Regions from separate parts of the Homo sapiens genome. Here region 2 is linked to region 1. Evidence: promoter capture Hi-C in human tissues and cell types (Jung and others, 2019). All regions are on one chromosome and are shown on one strand. Each heading gives the region's core, a stretch centred on a gene start or on the middle of the fragment in contact. The rest is flanking DNA. Distances are from core to core; before and after follow the strand shown.

The links. Contacts are between HindIII fragments. The study calls those that stand out against the background at their distance.
Region 2: a contact is called between a fragment that was not itself captured here and the fragment with the promoter of LGI3 in region 1, in 1 of the 25 tissues and cell types used here (liver).

What each region holds. Positions count from the first base shown.
Region 1 is chr8:22,154,513-22,160,544 of GRCh38, reverse strand. It overlaps LGI3 (leucine rich repeat LGI family member 3), which reads left to right and starts at 3,739. Exons shown (of 8, transcript NM_139278.4): 1 at 3,739-4,208; 2 at 5,082-5,153; 3 at 5,914-5,985. The coding sequence starts at 4,003. It also overlaps a transcript of SFTPC not described here. RefSeq lists a cis regulatory region at 3,634 and an enhancer at 3,562-3,706. The HindIII fragment of the contact is 9,171 bases long and covers 2,825-6,032 here.
Region 2 is chr8:22,408,610-22,415,524 of GRCh38, reverse strand. It overlaps SLC39A14 (solute carrier family 39 member 14), which reads right to left. Exons shown (of 9, transcript NM_001128431.4): 4 at 3,319-3,488; 5 at 623-745. Among named protein-coding and RNA genes, the nearest start is that of PPP3CC, 29 kb to the left of the region's middle. The HindIII fragment of the contact is 4,546 bases long and covers 34-4,579 here.

The DNA.
Region 1 (6,032 bases), core at 2,490-4,989:
TGACCTCCTGGACTCCGGTGATCCTCACACCTCAGCATCCCAAGTAGCTGGGACTACCAGTGCATGCCATTGTGCCCAGCTAATTTTTGCTTGTTTTATAGAGATGAGTTTTCACCATGTTGCCCAGGCTGGTCTCGAACTCCTGGGCTCAAGTGATCTCGGCCTCCTAAAGTGCTAGGATTACAGGTGTGAGCCACCATGCCCAACCAGCCTCCTGTCCTTTAACATGCCACCCCAGTTCCTGTCCCCTGCCCCAGCCCCCTCCCACCTGGGCCCTGCCCTTCGGTCATGAGCTGGCAGGTTCCCCTGTCCCCCTCTCCATCTGGAGGGCCTTCAGCCCCAAGGTTGCATAACAGCATGGCATCTGAACTGAGAGCCCCTGAGAAGCGCAGGGAGGAAGAAAGGGAGGGAAGTGTTTGCTCCCACCACCCTCCTCACCCCCTTGCTGCCCCTTTAAATATTTGCCTAAGACTCCAGCAGCCAGAGAGTGTCCTAGGACAGTGAAAGGAGGGGAGGGGTGCCGGGAGGAGGGGGAGCCCACAGAAGCATCCTCTCAGCTCGGCCTCAGCTGTGTGCAGGTGCCAGATGTGGGAGACAGCTCGCCTGCAGTGCCCACCCCTGCCCTCCCCCAGGGCCCTTACTCCCGCCCCCATCATCCTGGCAACATTGGGATTGATCGGCTGACTCACGAGTACTGGGCCTGAGCCAGGTGGGCAGCTGGCCAGCGGGAGAGCCAAGCACTGCAGGCATCTCGGGGTCCCTGTGGGCATCTCGGGGGGCCATGTTGTTCTCACGTGGGACTTGTTCTTAGCAGGCACTGTGGGTGGGGTTTGCCGCCATCGCTGGGTGCTGGGAGAGGGATCTCTTTCTTTGAAAAAGCCTCTGCTCTTTCTGGTCCTTGGTCTCCCCTGCCTGTTGCCCTTAGGCTGTAGCTGTCACAAGCTCTGTGGCGGCTGCTGCTGCTGCTTCTTCTCCTTCTTTTTTTAAACCCATTTTTGCTTGCTTGAGGGCTGAGGGAGGGTGCCTGCCTCCTGGAGTGCTCACACCAACCAAGTGAAGGTCTTGGGTTCCTTGGAGAAGGAGACACAGAAGGACCTTTAGCTGGGTGTGCCAAATTTCCCCCTCCCCCTACCAGCCCTGTCTGCAGCCTTCTCACTTTTTGGCCTGTACTTAAGCCGTTTCTCCCTCTGTGAAAGCCCACCTCCAATCCCTCTCCACTTCTCCGGTTTTATTTTTATTTTATTTATTTAATTATTTAGAGACAGGGTCTCACTCTGTTACCCAAGCTGCAGTGCAGTGGTGCAATCACAGCTTCATAGCTCACTGCAGCGTTGATCTCCTGGCCTCGTGTGATCCTCCTACCTTGGCCTTCCAAAGTGCTGAGATTACAGGCGTGAACAGTGCATCTGACCTTCCACCTCTCTGAATGCCACCCACCCAAACAGGCCAAGAGCCAATGGCACCTGCTCTGCGACCTCACTCCAGTTCATGGTGCCCTCTGAAATCCTCAGCCTCTCTGTGGCACCTTCACCTGCCATTCAGCACACATGAATGTTCCCATGAGTTACATGGGCGCTTTTTGTTGCTCTATCTTCCAGCCCAATTGCGGGCCCTGGGAAAGAAAGGAGCACGCTTCCTGCGGGCTTCTTTGAACCTGCCACTGGGCAGGAAGCATGCAAACAGCCAACACTTAATGATAGTCAATGATGAGACCAATACCAACAGCGGTCAATAGTCCATGCCTTCAGTATGTGGAGGTCTCAGTGCTTCCACTGGCCAGCTCTGGGACCCAGCGTGAGTCGTTCTGCTTTGTTAGGCATTAGTATGTTCATCTGTGAGATGGGTCAGGTACTAGCTGTCCACCTCACTATGCTATTATGAGGACCTAATAGCATCATGGGTGTGACATCCAGTCATCCTCATTAGCATCATCTACTTCATCCTCTAGGGGACCTCTCACTAGCTAAGAACACAGCCCAGACTCACCCTCTTTGTCTGTTTCTGGGTTGACTCCCTCTGAGAGCCCTGAGTGATGGACAGCCCCACGGTGGCCACCCCTTCTGTGTGGGCCTCCCCGTTTCCTCCTCCAGCCCCTCAGCTGCAGGGGTGGGGACAAGATTCACTTTGCTCTTTGTGTACTGGGCAGAGCCGTGCCAGGGACGGGTGGGGACAGTTGCCCAGCTGCCCCAGCCACCTCCCTACCCTCACTGCTTCCCTCCCCCCAAGCTGGCATGGGGAGGGCGGCTAAATGTGTGGCAGCAAGGAGACATCAAAGGGCAGGGGCATCCCTGGCTGGGAGAACACAACTTAAGCTCAGACCAGAGAATCCCCTGCTGGCAGAGTCTGGGGACAGCTGGGGAAGCATCTTAAAGCCAGTGGTCTTCGTTCCCTGGACTGGTGTGCAAAAAGCACAAGACTAGAAGCCCAGGCAGCTGACAGCCAGGCTCCCCTTGCCCCGTGCCTATGAGCTCTTAGGACAGTCATCCTCCGCCACAGGGGAGCTAACGTGGTAGAGAGCAGCAGTCTTCAAGCTTTTTGTTTTCAGGACCCCTTAACACTCTCAAAAAGTATTGAGGACCCCCAAGAGCTTTTGTTTATGTGGGATATGTCTGTTGATATTTACTGAGAAATTACATTTTTATTTACATGTGAATTTAAAATATCAGTAATAAACCCAATATAGGTTATGACATAAATCACATTTTTAATGGAAAAACGATTTTACAAAGCAAAATTATTTTACAAAGCAAAATAAAATTAGAGAGAAAGTGTCATTTCTTTACAGTTTTGGAAATCTTTTAAATTTGGAGCTTCATAGAAGTGAAAAGGGCAAATCATGTCTTAACAATATTAGGAAAATTGTTTTTACCTCAGAGACTTCCTGAAAGGTTCTCAAGGACCCCCGGGCTCCCAGGGCTACACTTGGAAGAGCCGTGCATGGAAGGACGACCGTGAACCTTGAAGCTGGGCAGAGTGGGCGGAAATCCCTGCTGATACCTTTTTCTTCTGGTGCGACAGGCCTCACTTTTCTTGTCTGTAAAAGGGAATTACTATCACCTGCCTCAAACGATTGAGAGGATTAAGTAGGGAAAGTACAGAGCACTTGCGATAGCAAGCTTAGGGGGCCTCAGTTTCCTCATTTGTTAGACAAAGGGCTGGACTGAAAAATATCCAAAGCGCTTCCCAGCTTTAACAGGCTGTGGTTGAGCGTGAGAAATGTTCCAGAATTCCACACAGTCCCACTCCAGCTCCAGAGGCTGCGTTTCCCTTTTCAGCTCATGCTGACACAAAGGTACATTCTGTTCAGCGGCGCGTGGAAAAACATGTGAATCCGGTTAGAAGCGCACTTCAGACTCCTCCAGGACGCCCTTGTGCTTCTAATCTTGCATGCTAACTTAGATATGCGTCTGTCACTCACGACATGCCCATGATGCTGCCTAGGGGATGTGTCCCCCCATGCAAAGAAACCCAGGTAGACAGAAGCACAGGGATCCCTAACGCCGAAGCGCCTCCACAAGGCAGTGAGTGCATGTGCCCGTGCAGAGACAGGTGAGCACCGGCGCGCACAGTCGTGCCCAGCAGAGGCACAAGCACAAGCTCACACGCATGCACTCACGCGCAGCCCCACACGCGGATGGCCCCAGAGACCGCCCGGTAGAGCACACAGCGGCCACGCCTCCCCTTCCGTGACTCCCAGGCCCCGCGCCGCCCCGCGCGCGCCCCCGCCGCCCGCGCCGCAGTCCGCAGCCACCCGGCGCGGTCAGCCCCGGCTGCGGCTCCAGCTCCGCGCTCCGCTCTTCTCTCCCGAGCCGGATCGCGGGAGCGAGCAGGGGAGGGGACCGCAGCCGGCGCCCGAGGGCAGGAGGAGTCCGCAGGCGGGCCCCTGGCTGCGGTAGCAGCTGCCGGTGGCAGGGAGGTGCCAGCCCGCGCGGGGTGGCCCAGCCGCGGGAGCGGTGGGGCGGGGGCCGCGGCCGCCGGCCCCAGGGAGAGATCGCGGGCAGCATGGCGGGGCTGCGGGCCAGGGGGGGCCCGGGGCCGGGGCTGCTGGCGCTCTCCGCGCTCGGCTTCTGCCTCATGCTGCAAGTCAGCGCTAAGAGGCCCCCCAAGACGCCCCCCTGCCCGCCCAGCTGCTCTTGCACCAGGGACACCGCCTTCTGCGTGGACTCAAAGGCGGTGCCCAGGAACCTGCCCTCGGAGGTCATCTCCCTGTGAGTGTCCAGCCCTGGCCTTGGGGGTTGGGGAGGGAGAGGAGGCCGAGGACAGCTCTGGGAGAGGACAGGAGAACCCCCGCTCCCCCTCTTCAGAGTGCGGGGACCAGGGGGACTGCAGGGGTCCTCAGGGCTGGAGATTCCAGGCACCAGTCGGGCAGGGAGTTCTGCAGTTTTGCAGGCTCAGCGGCCATGGGTGGGGAAAGCAGGAGTTCACCACCAAGAATGAATCATCATCACCACGAGCGACAGTGAGACCTACTGTGTGCTGTGCTCCAGACTTGGGGGGGTTGCTTACACGAGCATGTGGGCCCCTGCCTGTGATGTCACACCAAGGGCAGGAGAGTGGCGGCCAGAGCAGGATGAGAATGAGCTATGCCCTCCCAGCACCCTGGCATGGGGCACATGCCCGCCACTGACCAGCCACTTGGCACTCAGCTCGGCCAGCCTGTCACTCACAACAGCCAGCCTCAGGGGCTCCCCCTTGTCTGTGGGACCAGAGAGGTTGTGAGGTCCTTGGGGACCAGGATGCCAGCCCCCACCCCCATGCCCCATCTCTCAACAGCACCCAGCCCATTGTGGGTGTTTGGATGATGATGACAACGGTGTGGGTGATGGAACCTTTTCTTGCCTGAGAGGGAAGCTGAGCCTGGGGCCATGGGTGCCCCAAGAGGCAATAGGGGAGGACCCTGGTGAAGGCAGGCAGTGAATTTGGGAGGAGAAGGGAAAGACACACAGATGGGGGCTAAATTAGGTGAAATGGGGCATTTCCAGGGCAAGTGAGTACAAAAGCTACTGCCCTCCGTGTTCACCTCTCCCTGCCTCAGCACAGCCCTTGCAGACCCCACAGTACTGACTCGGGTGTCCCCGCAGGACCCTGGTGAATGCCGCCTTCTCAGAGATCCAGGATGGAGCGTTCTCCCACCTCCCGCTGCTGCAGTTCTTGTATGGATAGGGCCTTGTGGAAGGGTTGGGGGAACTATGGGGTGGTAGCAGGGGACAAATCCTGGGCTGGGGAGAGGGAGAGTGGACAGAGGCAGCCTCTGCAGACGAAGATGCAGGTGTCCCTTGCTTTTGTTCTGATAGGATGTACCCAAAAGACGGGGCAGCCTTGAGTCAGGGGAGTCGGGGCAGCAGGAGGACAGCTAGGGATGGCACAGAGAAGCCAAGCAAGTGGGATGCGGGGATGGGCTTGGCTGCTCTGGAAACCCCAGAGAATTGGGTGCGATAGCCTGGGCTAGTGCCCAAGGTGGGCACTGTGGGGCCATCTTAGAGACAGGTGATCCCAGGAATCAGAGTTCCCAGAAAGAGCTGGGGGCTGAAAGAAAGGGATGGCAGGAGTGTCTCCAACCCTACAAGATGCCGTCCATGAGGGACAGTTGTCCATGAGGGGCTGGAATGGGACAGAATGAGGGTGGGGGAGAGGGAGAGGAGATGCCACCCGGGAGGACCAGGAGCTGGCTTGACAAGAGAGCTCTGCCTTGGCCCATGTTTAGGATCCAACAGGGACCCTGGGAGCTTCTGGGGCCAGAACAGGCTCCTGCCTGGCCTTGTTGCCCAGGTGGCCCAGGGATTCCCCATGGGGTCCCCAGGGGTAGCAGCAGGGCAGTCATGTCTTGGGGAAGCCCAGGGCTGAGGCAGCGGGCTGGGGGCTGGGGCAGCAGGCACACCCTTGGAAGCTCTAATTCCACCTTTGTCTCTGCAGGTTACTCAACTCCAACAAGTTTACACTGATTGGAGACAACGCCTTCACAGGACTGTCGCACCTGCAGTATCTGTGTGTGGGAGGGAAAGGGGCAATGGGAAAGCAGAAGGGAGGGGGAC
Region 2 (6,915 bases), core at 1,057-3,556, 260 kb before region 1:
GAGAAGTTTGAGAGCAGCCTGGGCAACGAAGCGAGACCCCGTTTCTAATATCTATATATATAAATCTGCACCAAGTGCGAAGGACCTGGTGTCAGACAGATATCAAAGCTGTCTCCTCGGGGTACATGCTTATTCCACCAAGGCAGCCACTGCTCAAATATTTAGAGCTCCTCTTTTGCAATGGCTAATCTCACTCAATTCAGCAGCTATTTAGGGAATAACTGCATGCCAGCCACTAAAGATATCTTTTTGAAACTGTACTATAATAGTCCTGTTTCTCTGCAGCCTCATACTTCATACAGAATGAATGCATGGTATCAAGCTCTTCTCCCCATCCTGTAAAGATACAAATATATTAAGGAAATAATCTTAGAACAAAACAAAGGGGATAAACTACTGCTTAGTAGAAGGCACCCTGGCCAGATCTAGTTTCTGGTCTGGCCTCACTTCTGGCCAAATATCCTCAGGAGGTGAAATGGGATTGTCTCCTCAAGAAATTAGAGTTTCACGGAAATTGTGATATTGGGCTAAGACCATCACCACCACCACCACAATACATCAACATTGTTTGAGATGGGTGTTTTCCCTAGAAGAGCTTTCTTCAGCAACAATTGGGCCTCACCTCATTTTTCTGCTTAAGAAGAATCTTCAAGATCTTCTCTGTGAAAAAGAAAAGATAAAAGCCCCCAAACACCACTGCAGACTTGGAGACATAATAATCTTCCAGAGGGTTGAAACCAAATGCCTGTGGACCCAGGAAAAGAAAATGAGTTTTAAAGAAAATAAAGCATCTTTACTGATCCCCCTCTTATCTCTTAACTACTTCCTTGACTCTAGGAAAGGAGAGAGGCATAATGGAGTAACTCTGCCGTCTACCCATCCTCTTTCCAGCAAAAATCTAGTCCTTGGTGTTTCCCTGATGTGACATCACTAAACCTGCCAGGTTCTTCTCAAGCTTATTTGCTGATGCAAAAGACTGATCATCTGTAGAATTTTAATCCCAGAAAGAAAAACCTCCGATATGGTTTTCCACTTTTGATTTATCTTGGTGCTTTGCTATGAAGGCATTCTCTGCCAATAGATTTCATATTGAAGGAGCAGACACTTGTATTTATTTTCATCTTATCTAGTGTTCCTGGCTGACCTGCCTGTAAACACAAAGGGAGATGGTGTAATTATACTTTCTAAAACGGGAAACCCATTTCCCAGTTAAGTAATAAGAACTGCAGCGTTTTCCTAACCGCAGACCTCCCAGTGACCACAGAACCAAGAAAGTGGACTGTGTTATTGCGAGCGTCAATTTTTGGGTTTTGTTTTGAGTCCTTTCTGAAACTGTCACTTATCAAAGAGGGAGGGGAGAATCCACTGGGAAGAGGACAGGAGTAGAAATCAAGAGAATTCTGTCCTAGGGTAAGCTCCTGATTTATGGTGGGTTCTTGTGAATGTGTCTAATGACCTGGCCGGGCACGGTGGCTCATGCACTTTAAAGGACCGAGGTGGGTGGATCACTTGAGGCCAGGAGTTTTGAGACCAGCCTGGCCAACATGGCGAAACCCCAACTCTACTAAAAAAAAAAATACAAAAATTAGCTGGGCCTGGTGGCACACCTGTAATCCCAGCTACTCGGGAGTGTGAGGCAGGAGAATGGCTTGAACCCAGGAGGCAGAGATTGCAGTGAGCCGAGATGGCACCACTGCACTCCAGTCTGGGTGACAGAGTGAGACTGTCTCAAAAACAAACAAAAAAAAGTATCTAACGACTTGCTCCTATTTTATTCTTAAATTTTTTTGTGGGTACATAGGAAGTATATATATTTACCGGGTTGTTCCTCCATTTTCTGATGGGAAACGGGCCTTGAATAAACTTCAGCCCTCTCATGAATTGGTCCAAAATAAAAGTTGATCCCAACTTCAAGGAACTCTGGGCTGTTTGTTGCCTTTATGTTTTAAACAGGCCAAATTGAATCACCACCCTCCAGGGAAACAACACTTTCATGTTGACTTTCCAGGGGAGTCGAATCATCTTGGGGGAAAAGTGAAGTGAAAATAGGCAACGAACACTTCTCTGCAAAAAGCCACAAAGGATGGTGAATACAGAATCATGGGGTTGAGCTTCAGAAATCCCAAAAGCTGGGTTCTCGACTCAGGGATATGCGCTCTTGTGCAGGTCAGATTCCAACGTGGTAAAACGTTACTTGTTCTATCGATGCCATGGAGTTAACCTAAGGATCCACTAGGAGGGAGCCAACTGACATTTCAGAAAACACCAAGTGTTGTAAGAGGCGCATGCAGTCATCTCTGCTTCAACTGCGGCTCTGTCCAGGCCTGCGAGACCACCCACAGGGAGACGTCCTGTGCTTATTGTAATTAATGGGTCTGCTGAGGGGATTACACCAAATTAGATGAACCATCAGCTCCTTCTTTTGTGGCAAGTTTTCTCATGAACTTATTAGGCAAAGGTACCATCAAGGTATATAAAACCAGACATTGTTTGACTTGCATTGCCTTTGCCCCAAAACTCCCTATGGACAATCTTTTTACTGAGAACTGTGGGTTCTGATGATGTGGGAGTTTGTTTGTTTGTTTTGAGACGGAGTCTCACTCCCGTCACCCAGGCTGGAGTGCAGTGGTGCAATCTCGGCTCACTGCAGCCTCCATCTCCTGGGTTCAAGTGATTCTTGTGCCTCCCGAATAGCTGGGATTACAGGCGTGCGCTACCACGTCTGGCTAATTTTTGTGTTTTTAGTATAGACGGGGTTTCACCATGTTGGCCAGGCTGGTCTTGAACTCCTGACTTCAAACGATCCACCTGCCTCAGCCTCCCAAAGTGCTGGGAATATAGGTGTGAGCCACTGCACCCGGCTGATGATGTTTTTTAAACTTCTCTGCACCCAAAGCCTTAATCTGAGCACCACAACTAAGCCAGAGTGAGCTCGCTACACTGCATCTTTTCACCCCACATCAGACAGCACTTTCCGCACCAGGCACTCAGTGCTGCAGCAGACTCGCTCGTTCCACCCTCACAACATCATCCTGAGGCCGGTCTATTGCTCTCCCCATTTCACATCTGAAGAAACAGAGGCAGTGTGAGGTCAGTGGTGTGCCTGGGGTTACGGAACCTACTGATAGCAGAGCTGAGATTTGAACCCAGCTCTTCAGCCTATGCTGGGCTGCCTCTCCTAGTTCACGCCTAAGTTCTAGCTTCGCTTTCCAAAAGGAAAGGGCCTCCAGGTGCCCTCTCTATGCCTTCTATCCAAACGGAGGTCCTCCCACTGTGCCCGCCGGCATGCTCCGGGGTGAAGGCCCTGGCTTGCCATACCTCCGGGATGAGCTGGAAGAGGGCGTTGGAGTAGAGGGTTCCAATCGCCAGAGCTATGAAGTAGAGCAGCAGCCTCTTGTAAAAGGTCTTCTTCATGAAGGGCACCACGCTGGCCCCCAGGAGGGAGCAGAGGGAGATGACGGTCACACAGAGGAGACCGTATCCCCACACTGCCGTGCGGAGGGAGGGCCAGCCCCACCCAGGGCAGGGAGAGAAGGCACATGCCCCATTGCACAGCAACCACCATTTAGCGGGAGGAAGGTGGAGCAGATAGGGAGGTCGCAAGGAAAAGTTTGGTGGATATTAACGGAACAAAAAAGAAAAATCAGAGAGAGACAAGTAGGGAGGGAGAGAGAAATAGAAAATTTGTTAGTGATTCACATCTGATGAAATTTCCTTCAATCAGTTCAGAAGAAAGAGGAATTCAAGGTGGCCTTGGAACCCTGTGACTTCTGCCCCTGTGGCCACTGGTGGCCCCAAATCGTTCCTGCCAGTGGTGTGACTGGCAGGGCAGGGTGCTGCCTCGTCACACACCCAAGGTCTGCCCAGACCTATCACAGAGGCTGTCCAGGACAGACTTTGGACTCGAGGGCTCTCTTTATAGGACATGCAAGCAGGTGGAAAGAGGCTGATCACTCTGCTGCTGCGTTTGCTTTTGCATGTCCAATTCACACGGCGCAGGCTCGGGTGACACCACGACCACTTGGTTTGCTTTGTGCAAGACACAACCAAGCCAGATGTGCAGGGCAGAAGGGATGGAGAACGATTAATTCATGCCCAATGCCCATAAAATTCAGTGTCTTAACCTCTCAACTTCTTTGCTCATTTCCATGTGCTCTGAGAGGGGCTCAAGCACAAAGAACAGAGTTCCAGGAACACCCTGTCACAAAAATATTTCCTTGAACATTTCCCAGTTGTGACACTCTGTCCAGGCCCAAAAGAGGGCAAGACAGAACCAGACCAGGATGAGACACTCCCTGGCAGGCCACAGGGGTGGAGCACACACAATTACAGTATTTCCATTCCAGGAGGTCACAAGGCCTTTCATTTCAAATCTTTAAAAAATTAATATATTCCATTGCTGGAGCTGAAAAAATAGCCCAAGTTGAGGCCTCCCCTGCAAAGTGTTTGTCAGAGCCATGCAGAATTTTGAGATGGCACCAAGATGGTTCACATTCAACCAGGAAGAACAGGCAAGGCATGGCATCCCATCTGCTGTCTTTTCTGGGTGAGTCTTTTGACTGGGAAAGCCTGAGAAGCAGCTGACATGGGATCTTTGTGAAGGGCAGCATCCATGACTCCCTAATGGGGTCAACCACACGTCTGCGTATCCTCACCCTCCACAGCAGCATCCCTGCTTGAGCTAAAAAAGTGGGCAGACTGTCAACTTGGGCCTTATTTTTATAGCTCCTCTATGATAACAATTAAACAACAAAATTAACATTTCAAAACAGTCAAGTCAAGGTACCAGGAAGTCAGTCCTATCAGAAAAAAGTCAAGATGCAAGGTACAAAGGGCTGAGTGCCCCTTCCATTTATCTTGTCATTTTAATTTTGTTTGGTCTTAGTCTTTGTTCTGTGTTTGGCTCTCTATGCTAGAAACGATGGCCTGCTCAAAATTAAAGAACACTCGCTTTTTAGGCCAATTCTACATATCACTTGGTAACCTCTTTTCCTTCCATCTCATTCCAGATGGATAAGCTCTTGGTGCCCAGACCTGAGTACTGCCAGGATTTCTCCTTAGAATAGAGCAAGTACTTAGCACCAAAGGCATGGACGGCAGTCGATAGCTGCTGCTTTCCCTTGATGCCTTATGTATGGGGCTTAACAAGGGAGGGGAGACTGTCAAGTCCCCAGGAGGAGGGAAATTGGAAGAACCTTGCATCTGACAGCACCTGCAGAGGCCAGAGGAGTGAGAGGTGGGCCCTGAGATCCAGAGTTAGAAGTCGTTTGTGGCTTTGATACGAGGGACAGGTTCATTTCTCAGGTGGCAGTCATTGGGTGCCTTGGAGCCCAGGGTAGGGGAGGAGGGGATTGGCTCAGCTGTGCCGCCCCAGGGAAAGAGGACGCGCAAGTTTCTGTTCTACTGCACCTCTGGGATGAGCTGGAATAGCGCGTTAGACAGCAGCGTTCCAATGGACAGGGCGATGAAGTAAGTGAGCACACGGCTGAAAAACGCTTTCTCTGTGCAGGGCAGGACGAGGACTCCCAGGAGAGAGGCCAGGTTAATCAGTGAGACACTGAGAAAACCAAAGCCCCACACTGTGGAGGAACAAGAACAGACGAGGGCCTCTATTACTGAGGGTGGGGACACTCCTGCTGCCTGGGGCGGCCCTGTTCTGAATTCAGGTGTGATGGGGCAGACTGAGATCCACCAACCCATCAGTAAACATTTGCTGAGTCCATCTCTCACCAGATGCTGCGGAGAAGCCTAGGGAAACTATCAAAATTGCTATCCAAGAGAAACACCTTTTCCATGGAGAGACGGATGCAAACAGCAATGGAAGCCTAAAAACCATACAAGTAGGCCAGGTGCGGTGGCGCAAGCCTATAATCCCAGCACTTTGGGAGGCTGAGGAAGGTGGATCACCTGAGGTCAGGAGTTCGAGACCGGCCTGACTAACATGGTGAAACCCCATCTCTACTAAATACAAAAAATTAGCTGGGCGTGGTGGCGCGTGCCTGAAATCCCAGCTACTCAGGAGGCTGAGGCAGGAGAATCGCTTGAACCCAGGAGGCGGAGGTTGCAGTGAGCCGAGATTGCACCACCGCACTTCAGCCTGGGCAACAAGAGCGAAAGTCTGTCTCAAAACAAACAAACAAAAAAAACAAAAAAAGCCATACAAGTAAATAACGACAGCAGAAAACAGGGACTTGCAGTAACACAGACAGTATATTCCGGGTGCCGACACTCAGGCAGCACACGCCGGCCCTATGGGGCTTAGGGCTATCAGGGTGTACACTCACAGCTCGTGGCAAGCCCACTGTGGCTGGATCAGGGATACCGGGATAGGGAGGGGAAGAAGGATTCAGGGGCCAAGTGCAGCCTCCGGGAGGTCTTAAAGGAAAAACTATAAAACCAAAGTAGGCCAGGTATGGTGGCTCATGCCTGTGATCCCAGCACTTTGGGAGGCCGAGGCAGGAGGATCACTTGAGCCCAGGAGTTTGAGACCAGCCTGGGTAACATAGTGAGACCGTGTCTCTACAAAAAATTTAAAAATTAGCTGGGCATGGCGGTGCACGCCTGTAGTCCCAGCTACTCAGGAGGCTGAGGCAGGAGGGTCACTTCAGGCCAAAAGGTCAAGGCTGCAGTGAGCTATGATTGCACCACTGGACTCCAGCCTCGGAGACAGAGCGACATCCTATCTCAGAAAAAAAAAAAAAAAAGATTAAAAAAGCCAAAGGGTTGGGCCCCCGTGGTTCAACATGAAACAAAAAGCAGACCAAAAAGGGATCCATAGGCCGCTCAAGAAGTCCAACGCTCTGAACATTCGCCAGCTACGGCCCAGGAGTCTGACAATGTGCTAGGCCATCCTTGCAAAATACAAAAATTATCCATCCAATCATCGCTCCCGCTCCTGACACCGACAACCTCATC